Regions from separate parts of the Homo sapiens genome. Here region 2 is linked to region 1. Evidence: promoter capture Hi-C in 16 types of primary human blood cells and fetal thymus (Javierre and others, 2016). All regions are on one chromosome and are shown on one strand. Each heading gives the region's core, a stretch centred on a gene start or on the middle of the fragment in contact. The rest is flanking DNA. Distances are from core to core; before and after follow the strand shown.

Region 1 (5,881 bases), core at 1,332-3,831:
ATTTTAAAACGTCAAAATCATATGAAAAACTTGCAGGAAGAGAAAAATGATCAGTTTCCTACATAGATCACCTGCAAGCAGCATTTACAGTCATAATTTTATAAATGCTGAACACACATTTAACCAAAATTTTAACTGTGACAATATATTTTATGATATAACTAAGATATACTATGTCAAGACATAGGGGTAAATCCCCTAATATTCCGTTAAGAGGCCACAGGATTTGCTTTCTGTAACAGAGGAAATGGGAGTTGCAGGAAGCATGGAAGCACCATTGCTTATCCCTAAAACTGCAAAATAACTGGCCGAGCGCGGTGGCTCACGCCTGTAATCCCAGCGCTTTGGGAGGCCAAGGCGGGCAGATCACCTGAGGTGAGGAGTTTGAGGCCAGCCTGACCAACACGGTGAAACCCCGTCTCTATTAAAAATACAAAATTAGTGGGGCATGGTGGCGCATGCCTGTAATCCCAGCTACTCTGGAGGCTGAGGCAGGAGAACCGCTTGAACCCGGGAAGTGCAGGTTGCGGTGAGCGGAGATTGTGCCATTGCATTCCAGCCTGGGCAACAAGACCGAAACTCCATAAAACAAACAAACAAACAAACAAAACTGCAAAATAACAGACTCATGTAAATAAATGAATGTTTTAATTTTTGATGATTTAAAAAATGTTTTCCAGTGAAAACTCTCAGGGATGATCACACCTATCTGTGGACTGTTCAAATATTTACTCTCTAATGTTTTAAAATTACTTGAAAATATAACCTCATAACTTCAGCCAAACAAAAATCCTTTACCTGTAATAAATGGTCAGCTACCGTTGAAAAAGTAGAAATATTCTATTGAGACAATTTTGAGTCAATCTACTTTGTACTTGACAGTTTAAACCCAAATTTAACATGAGTGAAGTCAAACCAATCAACAGTAACGTAACAACTTGAAGGGAGGCCTTGCTGTTTCATTACTCTTGCACATAGTAGGGAGCAAAGCTCAAACAGTTAAAAAATAAAATCTGATTCATTCTATTAAATCAATGGCAAAAATACACTCAAAAGGTCGACTTAAGAAACATGTTTAACAAATATTAGTAAATCCTGTTCCTAATTACCAGGGGAAATTTCAGAAGAGTGTGATGGCCTCTATGACGCTTAATTCTAACACTCAACACTCAATTCACTAATTCACTGGTCAGTACAGATAAATAACAAATAATTTTTCTTTCAACTTGATAGATATCAACCGTTTCTATTGGGTTGAATCTACCATGATATAGTGCAGATTTGGGTCTGTAAAATCTTGCACGGGCTCCATTATCTTCCTAAACTATTCCAGGGGTGCTGTATTCCACCGGCTCTGGGTTAGAACGTTCCCAACCGCAGTGATTTGTGACTTCAAAGAACACCCTCGAGAAGGGGTTCCAAAGGTTTTCAGGCTTTAGGGGAGCAACGCGGAATAACCAAATTCTGCATGGATCGGAGTGACGACCCCGATAAGCTAGTTTTTAGAAGCAGGAAGACTCCCCTCTGGGGCAGCCAAGTAGGTAGCACTAGGCTGGGGGGCAAAGAGGCAGGTACCGTTTCCTTCCTGGGGCCCGCAGGTGCAGTCGGCCCCCAGCTCCGCCGACACCTCCACCGCCCTCTGCAGCAGGTAGCGCGCTCGCTTGCGCGTCAGGGCGTCCGCCTGGCCCAGCCCCGCCTGCACCGTCCTCCAGAAGCGCCAGCAGCGCCGGGCGTCCGGGCCCGCCTCGCGCGCGCCGCGGGCGCGGTCGCCGCCGGGCTCGGGCAACAGCTTCTCGGCCAGGGCGCTCAGGACCAGCAGCTTCTCCTCTACGCGGCCGGACCCCAGGGACGCCCCAGGCGCGGCCAGCCCGCCCCACACGGCCCGCAGCGCCGCCCCGCCACATTGGACCAGCACTGGCAGCAGTCGCCCGGCCACCAGCGCCGCCGCGTCCTCGGCAGGCCCGGCCTCATCCCCGTCCCCGCCCCCGCCCAGCGCCAGGGCGACGGCGGTCCCCGCCACGCGCTCCAGTAGCGGCCCGTCCTCGCGGGGCCGCAAACATGGCCCGACGGCTGCTAGCACTTCCACGGCAGCCTCGGCGCCAGGCGCGCGCCACCCGGCGAGCAGATCGCGCAGCGCCTCCTCAGCCAGCGCGGCCGCCAGCTGCGGACGCCCGGCCAGGCGGACGCACGAGCGCAGGGCCGCGCCCGCCGCCCTCAGCACGCGCCGGCGGTGGCGAGGCTGCAGACTGGGGTCCGGGCCGCCCGCGGGGCGTCCGCGCAGGCTCCGCAGCAGTGGCACGAGGTACCCTGCAGCCACCTCGCGCGCCGCCTCCGGGAGCGCGCCTGCGCCCCCGCTGCCGCGCGCCTCCTCGTCCTCGAGCCGCTGCAGAAGGAAGCGCAGCGTCTCCACGCGCTCCGCGGATGCCTCCCCTTGGCACAGCGCCCCAAGCAGGGCCCGGGGGTCCCGGCTCTGCGAGAGCAGCGCTTCCGCGAGCACCCACTCCATTTGCCGAGCGCCCGCGCCACCGGCCCGGGCTCCCAAAGGAAGGCGCCGGCGTGTGCGATGCGTGCGCACAGGACCGGCCGGCCCCTACGTGCGCGTGCGCCGACGGAGCCGGGCGCGCGGCCGCAGAGAGGGGGATCCCAGCCCGGCTTGGTGCAGCTCAGCTTCCCTTGGGTTCCTGCCACCAACCCTGCCTAGATAGAACCCACCTGGTCTCTTATTTTTAGGAGAAACGAGGCCTTCGTTAAAAGTTAATGTAGTATCTACACCAGCTTCATCGATTCCTGATTGGAGGTTGGTCTGCCCAGGACCCTAAATCAGGCGTGCCTGTGAGCATAAACCAGTTCACAGAAGGTGCACAGCAGAATCACTTTAGATTATTTTCCAAACGTTGCATGATGGGCACCATCCACAAAGAGACTGACACAGTAGGTCTGAAATTGGTTCTGGACATCTGCATTAAAAATAAGTCATGAAAACACAAGAATGATTTAGACGTAAGGCCAGGAGTGAGAAGTGTTACCGGTGGAGGGTGTCCAGGTCCAAGAATTGGACAAAGCGCACAAACAAAGCAAAGACAGAATGAAGCCACAAAAGCAGAGATTTATTGCAAAAGTACACTCCACAGGGTGGGGGCAGACCCAAGCAAGCCGCTCAAGGGGGGCTGGTTACAGAATTTTCTGGGGTTTAAATACCTATAGAGGTTTCAATTGGTTACTTGGTGTACACACTATGTAACTGAAGAGGATAAAATGAAGTTACAAAGTTATTTACTTGGTGTACTCCCTATGTAAATGAAGAGGATATTTCCTGTCATAGCTGAAGTGTTTCTATCTGATTTGGTTCTAGGGAGTTTTTGGATTCCCTGCCTCCAGGCCCTATTCTCCTGCCTTAGAGGTACCTATAGCAATGTGCTAGGATTCAGCTAAAACCAAGATGCCCACGCCAGCCCTCACAGCCAAGTGCCCAAGATGACTCCAGGATGCAGAGCCTCCTGCACAATGCATGTGCTCCCATGTGCAAACTCAAAAATAGTCCCTGTGTCTGTCTTTTCTGTATTTCTGACAGCATCCATTGCTAAATAGAGAAACAGAAAACCTCACCTCGGCATGCATGGTGTGGATTTGGTTCCTGGCTCAATTTGAGACAAACTAGATCAGTGACATAGGGTTTTCTTCGCTACTAAACACAAAGATCTGCCTCTTAGTCAATAGAGAAAACAGGGTCCCAACTTCAAAGAGCTTGACATATAATAACATAATGGATAAGACAAAAATTAGTTATTTAAATTTACAGTTATTTTTATATAAAGTTATCTGACTTTAAGGTTATCTGACATTACACAGGCAAGACTTTTTTCATATTTCAGTCATTCCGTTTTTCATTGACAAAATGCATAAATGTTTCTATTTTAAGCCCTTTTAACATGTCAGTAAATATCAATTACCTTCAACATAAAATGTGCAGAAAACTATTGTTTCTGTCAACATATATCTAACAAATATAAATGGGTAAATGTCTTGAGCACTTAACAAACGAAGATACACAAATGATAAGCACTTGGAAAAGTGTTCAACATCATTAGTCATCAGAGAAATGCAAATTAAACCCACAATGAGGTACCACTTCATACTGATGAGAATGGCTAACATGTAAAAGCTCGAAAACACTAAACGGCAAAGACCAAGGGTGTGGAGCAACTGGAATTCTCATACATTACTGGTGGGCATGAAAACGGTACAGTCACTTTAGAAACTGTTTCTCGTAAAGTTATAATATAGCTGCTTTATGATTCAGCGATTTCACCCCCAGGTAATTACCTAAAATAAATGAAAACATGTTTCAAAAAAAAAAGCTTGCAGAAGAATGTTTTTGACAACATTATTCGTTATAGCCAAAAGCTTATAACAACCTAGTAGGTGTTAGGTAACAACCTACATGTGCATCAAATTGAAGAATGAATAAAAAATTGTGATCTATCTATATAATAATGCTCCCAGCAATAAGACAATGAATTGCTAATCCGCTTTACATGGATAAGTCTCAGAAACAATATGTTAAACAAAGGAAGCCAGTCACAACGTTTACATCCTCGTGATTTCATTTATATGAAATCCAAGAAGAGACAAAAGTAATCTGAAGGATAGAAATGAGAACAGTAGTTGCATATAGGGAGTAGAGATTTGACTAGAATTGGGCACAAGGGAACTTTCTGGGGTGATGAAAATATTTTATGTTGATCAGGGTGTTGTTACACATTTGTCAAGACTCCTTGAACTGAACCCTTAAGATCTATGCATTTCGCTCTGCAGAAAGTTTACCTCAATCAGCCGGGCGCAGTGGCTCACACCTGTAATCCCAGCACTTTGGGAGGCCGAGGCCGGTGGATCATGAGGTCAGGAGATTGAGACCATCCTGGCCAACATGGTGAAACCCCATCTCTACTGAAATACAAAAAAATTAGCTGGGCATGGTGGTGCACGCCTGTAATCCCAGCTACTCGGGAGGCTGAGGCAGGAGAATTGCTTGAACCCAGGAGGCAGAGGTTGCAGTGAGCCAAGATCACACCACTGCACTCCAGCCTGGAGACAGAGTGAGACTTGGTCTCAAAAAAAAAAAAAAGAAAGTTTACCTCAATCTTGAAAAATGACTTATACCAAAAAACAAAACAAAACAAAACAAAACAAAAAAACAAGTTGGCCTATGTGTTTTATTCTCTGTTGCCTTCAGAGTAAAGCCTAACTGCAGAGCACAGCATTGAAGGCTTATTGGGATTGGGGAAAAGCCAGCTGGCCTCACAGCCTGACTCCCCCTTCTCTGCCCCAGGTCAGGCATGTGGAACTCTCCTTCTTACCCACAACATGTTTGCACTGTCTTCTCTCCCGGAATATTTCCCGCAACACCACTTTTCTGATTCACCAATGTGGGCAGCGATTCCTAATTGCCAGAGCTGCCCTTTTTCGTTCTTACCTGAATGGACTCTGTGGAGTATTTCCTATTTCTTGAAACACTATCTCACTCTGGTTTTCATCGATGACTTTGTCCTGTTCTTTCTTTTCTCTGCTTCCTCAGCTGTTTCTTCTCCCTTTCTTTCAGCATCTTATTTTTCCTCCTGACCTGTCCATAGTGATATTTCCAGGGTTTTATCTTCAGGTCTCTCTTCTCCTCACTCTGTAAATTTTCTCTGAATAACTTCATTAACACTATAGATCTGATTACCATTTACATGCTAATGATGAAAAAGTCTGTATCTCCAGCCTAGGTCTCTCTCCTGAGACTTATCCTTAGGAGATAGCTCGAAACCTATTTCTCCAACTGCCTACCACACGTCTTCATTTGAATATTATTCAGGACATCATTCTCAGTCTCCACTTTTAC
Region 2 (6,104 bases), core at 3,043-5,542, 1.0 Mb after region 1:
GTTGATAATGCAAATTAAGCTTAATGTGATGTGTCTATCTATAGCCACTACAGAGTGAATAGTTAAAAAAAAAAAAAAAAGTCAAGGAAGATACGATTCCAGTGTTCCAAAACTATTACCTGATACAGCATAGAAGTCACTGACTTTATTAAGTGTAAAGCTGACATATCTTAGTTGTCACTTTAGTCCTCACCTCACTGTTTAACTTAAAAGAAAGACTTTTGTCACAACTACACTCTTTTGTTAACTGCAACCATAAGTTGGTCATAGATAGGAGAGTCTGACAAACAACAAAAGCGTTCTATGAGAATCAACTGGTTTCATGGAATTTACGATAAACAGTATTGTATAGGTTATTATCTGTCAATTACAGGCTGTATATACTTTATGTCAATAAAATTTATAATAAACATGTATGTACATATAAGCATCATTTTTCCCAGAGAGCCAGTTAGTAAACCTTTATCAGTACACTACTGCCTGTAGGAACCTCAAGGTCAACATATACACAACTGAGCTTCTTTCCCATGAAACCTGCTCTTCTCTTTTAGTATTTTTGTTTTGATTGATGATTCCACTATTCTCCAAGTCAGAACACTAGCAATCTTCCTAGCCTCCTCCTCCATTTTCTACATTCAATGACCTTATTCTCTCACAAGGTCACCCCTCTGATCTCTGTAGATCAGCCCCTCAGCAGTCCTTGCCACAACAGGTCTCGTCCTTCCACTCAACCCTCCACATGCCTGTTACATGTGATCTGCTCACTGTCTGCCTCTCACAGTCATATGCTTCCCCCCTCTTTTCTTTATATACACCTCTCTACTCTCCTACCTCTCCTGGCTGTTTCTCTCACACTGTGCCACAACCCTTCCCCCACCACCACAAGCCCTGTGCTCAAGTTATATAGAAGTGTTAGGAGTTTCTCAAACACCCCGGGCTATTTTATATCTATTTATATCACAGCACATACAACATTTTATTATACGATTACACCTATTTCCTTCTACTAAATGTCAAGCCCCTCCTAACACTCTATTTATCTCTGTATTCTACCACACATACTACATTATTTGCTTACAGAAGTACTTAGTGTTGAGTTTGGGTCCTTTGGTGAAATGCAAGAATGGAAAATATGCCATAACCACAGAAATGCAGTTTCTGTTACTAATTACCAATTAAGGCAGAATACCTTTCATAGATAACTAGCATTTGGAATAAAAGTATAAACAGAAATGAATAAATGTGCTAACTAAATTATTGCAAGTATGTACCAAATTTGGTTTTTTAGCCATCTTACTAGGTACTCTTACTAGATCCACAAAATTACTGTGTCCCAGGAAGGTGTTTCTGCCTAATATCTATTTTTATACAGATAGCTGATCATTCTCATAACACAAATCAAGCACGCTAAATTTAAAGCAAGACTGTTATGATGGCAAATAAATTAGTGGTGAAATGTCTGAATATAAACTATATTCATTACATTTGGTTCTGAGTCATTCATTCAATAGTTGTTGAGTGCCTTAGTCTGCACCAAGCTAGGTTTTAGGTATTGGGAATACACCAGTGAAAAAACCTGAAGCCCCAATGCTCATGAAACCTACATTCAAGTGGAGAAAGACAAACAATTTTACAACTAAATACAATACAGATGCCAGCTGGTGATAAGTGTTACCAAAAAAAAATTAAAGCCAACTAAGGGAAGACACAAACAAGATAGGGGTGGGCTGCTATTTACTATGGGGCTGTCTGCTAGAGTGACATCTAATCAGAGACCTGAAGGAAGTGAGTCCTGAGGACATTAGTGAGAGAGGACGTAGGAAATGCAAAGGCCCTGAGGTAGGGGCACTTTTAGTGTATGAAAGTACAGTAAGGCAGCCAGTGTAGGGGAAGTAGATGTAGATAAGGTCAAATACCACAACAAAGACTTGGAGTTTCACTCTGAGCAAGAAAGGAGGTCAATGGAGGGGTATGAATAGAGAATTGACATAATTTGACTAATTTTAAAAGGATCACTCTGGCTGCTGTATGGAAAATAAAATGTAGGGGGTCAAAGGTAGAAGCAGTAAGTTCAGAGAAGGGGACTTCTGCAATAATCCAGGTGAGACATAATGGCAGCCTAGATCAGATGGCAGTGGTAAAGGTGGTGAGAAGTCAGATTCTGGGTATGGTCTAAGCAGCATCTGGAAGGTATGCTGATGGATTGGATGTGGCAGGTGAAAGGAAAAATCAGGGTAACACCAAGGGTTTTGGTCTGAGCAACTGGTGGAGGAGTCATTATTTTCTAACAGGGAAATACTACAGGAAGTACAGCTTTTGGAGGTGGTTCTGATAGTAGTGATGATTCTGAGGTCTTTCATTTGCTGTGTAATAGGCTCTATTATCATTGCAACCATGAACTAAAGAAACCTGTCTTGAAAAGGAATGAAAGCTACTATGAGTAAGCACTACTAGTGACAAGAAAATTCACAACTAGGCCGGGCTTGGTGGCTCACGCTTGTAATCCCAGCACTTTGGGAGGCCGAGGCAAGCAGATCACCTGAGGTCAGGAGTTCGAGACCAGCCTGGCCAACATGGTGAAACCCTGTCCTTACTAAAAATACAAAAATTAGCCGGGCATGGTGGCAAGTGCCTGTAATCCCAGCTACTTGGGAGGCTGAGGCAGGAGAATCGCTTGAACCCAGGAATTGGAGGTTGCAGTGAGCCAAGATCGTGCCACTGCACTTTAGCTTGAGCGACAGCAAAACTCCATCTCAAAAAAAAAAAAAATTCACAACTGCAATTTGCTTGTATAGCTACTCAGTCACAAATGTGCCAGTGCAATTCAATCCTGAAAGGGCCTTCTCTGCTTATCACCTGAGTCTTCACATACATAGAAGTCAACTTCTATGCGTTTCTTCCCCTAGTCCCTCACTACACAATCTTCAGAGGTTGATCTCATTGAGAACAGACTAAGGCTTTGGGCCCCTAACTAATAACTGAGAGCTATCTAATGTCAGCATGAAATGGATTACCAAAGCTCAGTTCCAGAAGGGTAGTCAGGAAAAAGAGCATGGCATATTACACATACTGCAGATTACACAACTAAAAAATACTACAAAACTGAAAAAAATTAAATTTATCTCTGTGAAGTTAGTGAAAAGTATATTTAGACATGCACATGTGTCTAAGGAGAGAACTGCTCTAGAACAGAACCTTTTAAGAATTGCTATTCTAAATCAAAGCAAAAAACAAACAAACCACACTGGGTATCTAAATACTACACGTTAACCAGTGAATATACTCTCTTCCAATTATCATTTGGCTTAAAATGTTGGTTAAATTTACTTTTTGGCCCAAACTATATGGAAGAAAAGCAAATGAAACAGCCATTTCTCCCAGGAAGAGCCCACATATCTGAATGAACATTTCTATTCAAAGTAAGGTTTTTCAGAACTTTTTTTTTTTTTAAATTAGGCAGGGACTCATTCCCATCATGCAGGCTAGAATGCAGTGGTGCAATCATGGCTCACTGCAGCCTCAATTTTCCAAGCTCAAGCAATCCTTCCACCTCAGCCTCCCCGGTAGCTGGGACGACGGGCACACACCACCACGCCTGGCTAGGTTTTTCAGAACTCTTATTTCAATAAACCAGGCAAGGCAACAACTCAGAAAACCTACCGTTGACTTAATGTGGGATGCTGTAGCAAATGTCTCATCCAGGTGCTTCTTATCACGTTTCGAAGTTCATGGTTATTGCGAGCTGACAACACGCCAACTACCACATCATAGTGAGTAGATTTCCACTGAGGAAATAAGGCCAACTGATCTAGAAATAAGAACAATACATGAGAAATAAGTCATGTATCAATTACTATGAAGTTCAATATGTATCATAAGTTTATTACAAAATAAGCTTATGTTTGTAGGAAATTCAGATAAACACAAAGAAAAGAATTTTTAAATCACATATGAACCCACTATCCAGAGACAACCACTAATAACATTTTGGTTTAGAGTATTTTTGTCTTTCACGTATATATGTATGTATTCATGCTCACGTAAGTATACTAATTCTTCAAAACAAACAAGATGTGGTAAGAATCTGTTTCAAAAGGCAACGTAGCATAAAAAAATAGTAGGCATTAAGAGTCAATTAGGCCACAGTTAGAATCCAGGCTCTATCATATATTAACTATAAGTTATTTAGCTTCTTGAGCCTCAGTTTCCTCAACTACAAAATGGGTATAATAATACTTCTCATAAAGCTGTTGTAAAAATTAAATGAGATAACATGTATAAAGCTCTTGGTTTGGTATTAGGCATATATGAGGCATTCAATGGCAACTAAAAAAAATGTGCTTTGAAAAGTGAGGTCCTACATTAATGTTAGTTATTAAGTTTGGCGGATGACGCTGAAGGACTTCCATACCGGAAAGTAATGCAACCCTTATTTATATCAATGAATTCTATAGCCAGTAAACCTTTCACTACCTACAAAATATTCTGAAGAATGACGGGAAAGCAACACTTTTAGTAAAAAAAAAAAAAAATAATAATAAAGTAAGTCATTCTGAACGGCTCATTTTTTACTGTCAGAAGGTCTAATGGGCAGGGTTACATTTCCATGTAAAACTTGTCCTTAGAAGACAGAAGAGAAAGATATACTTTGTCCTTGTTTTTCATCACCAGTTTTAAGGCTTGAGAGCTACAAGCTTATATATAGCTCTGATGAGGTATCCATTTCATCTCTTTCTCCAGTGGTGGGAACTGATCCAAAACGTTTCCAAAAATAAATTATTGAAGCCCAGACTCTTTACTATATTAAATGCAATGTTTTTATATACCATGGGATCTAGGTATTCAGTCTAAAAGACAACAAAACCAGGTTGATATTTTCTTCAAAGGCCCAATTAAAATAATAAAAACAGATCTTTCTACTAGGATAGTTTTAAGGATATAATACAGAAATTTTTGTGTAGATACCTTATTTTCCACAATAGATATATTTCTTAAAATGTTTCATTCTGGGCCAGGCACGGTGGCTCATGCCTGTAATCCCAGCACTTTGGAAGGCCGAGGTGGGCGGATCACCTGAGGTCGGGAGTTCAAGACCAGCCTGACCAACATGGAGAAACCCTGTCTCTACTAAAAATACAAAATTAGCCGGGTGTGGTGGTGCTTGCCTGTTATCCCAGCTACTTGGGAGGCTGAGGCAGGAGAATCTCTTGAACCCGGGAGGTGGAGGTTGGGGTGAGCCGAGACCGCGCCATTGCACTCCAGCCTGGGCAACAAGAGTGAGACTCCACCTGAAAAAAAAAAAAAAGTTCCATTCCAAATGGAATAGAGGTATTTATTATTTCACTCTACAATGAGTCATGTACTAAAACGAATTCTTTTATAAAGACAATTTATTTTTAAATAAATTCAAATTTTCATGGATTAAGCTTATTAATAGGCCATATTTATTGAACAGTTAATCTGTGAAAAGCACTACATATAGAGTATCATTTAATGTTCACAACCCTATGAGGTAGGTACTTGTTTCTTTTTTTTTTTTTTTTTGACGGAGTCCCACTCTGTGGCCCAGTCTGGAGTGCAGTGGCGGCGATCTCGGCTCACTGCAACCTCTGCCGCCCGGGTTCAAGTGATTCTCCTGCCTCAGCCTCCTGAGTAGCTGGGATTATAGGCGCCTGTCACTGTGCCTGGCTAATTTTTGTAGTTTTAGTAGAGATGGAGTTTCACCATCTTGGCCAGGCTGGTGTTGAACTCTTGACCTTGTGATCCACCGCCTCGGCCTCCCAAAGTGCTGGGATTACAGGCGTGATCCACCGTGCCTGGCCCAGTACTTGTTGAACAAATGAAACACCCAAAGAATTCAGTAACTTAAGTCAAACAGCTTGGAAATGGCTGGGCTAAGATTTAATCCCAGGCAATCTAACACCATTCTTTATCACTGTTCTATTCTAAAGCTATACAGCTTAATATAGCTTATCTGAGTCTAAATTCTGATCTTTTAATCCACAATACCAGTTCAACTGAATTAGCAATAAGCGGATCATTGAATACGCTGGGTAACACATCAATTTTTTTTAACTCATAGCTCAGAACATTTTTTCTCAGAT

Evidence for each region. Contacts are between HindIII fragments. The CHiCAGO score rates a contact against its expected background, and 5 or more counts as called.
Region 2: a contact is called between a fragment that was not itself captured here and the fragment with the promoter of TARBP1 in region 1, in 3 of 17 cell types (naive CD4 T cells, total CD4 T cells and naive CD8 T cells). The highest score is 5.8, in naive CD4 T cells.

The regions. Positions count from the first base shown.
Region 1 is chr1:234,476,598-234,482,478 of GRCh38, forward strand. It overlaps TARBP1 (tRNA guanosine 2 -O-methyltransferase TARBP1), which reads right to left and starts at 2,582. Exons shown (of 30, transcript NM_005646.4): 1 at 1,576-2,582. The coding sequence starts at 2,506. RefSeq lists silencers at 1,679-2,478, 2,509-2,698. The HindIII fragment of the contact is 13,603 bases long and covers 1-4,356 here.
Region 2 is chr1:235,491,021-235,497,124 of GRCh38, forward strand. It overlaps B3GALNT2 (beta-1,3-N-acetylgalactosaminyltransferase 2), which reads right to left. Exons shown (of 12, transcript NM_152490.5): 2 at 3,661-3,808. Among named protein-coding and RNA genes, the nearest start is that of B3GALNT2, 10 kb to the right of the region's middle. RefSeq lists a silencer at 348-548. The HindIII fragment of the contact is 799 bases long and covers 3,894-4,692 here.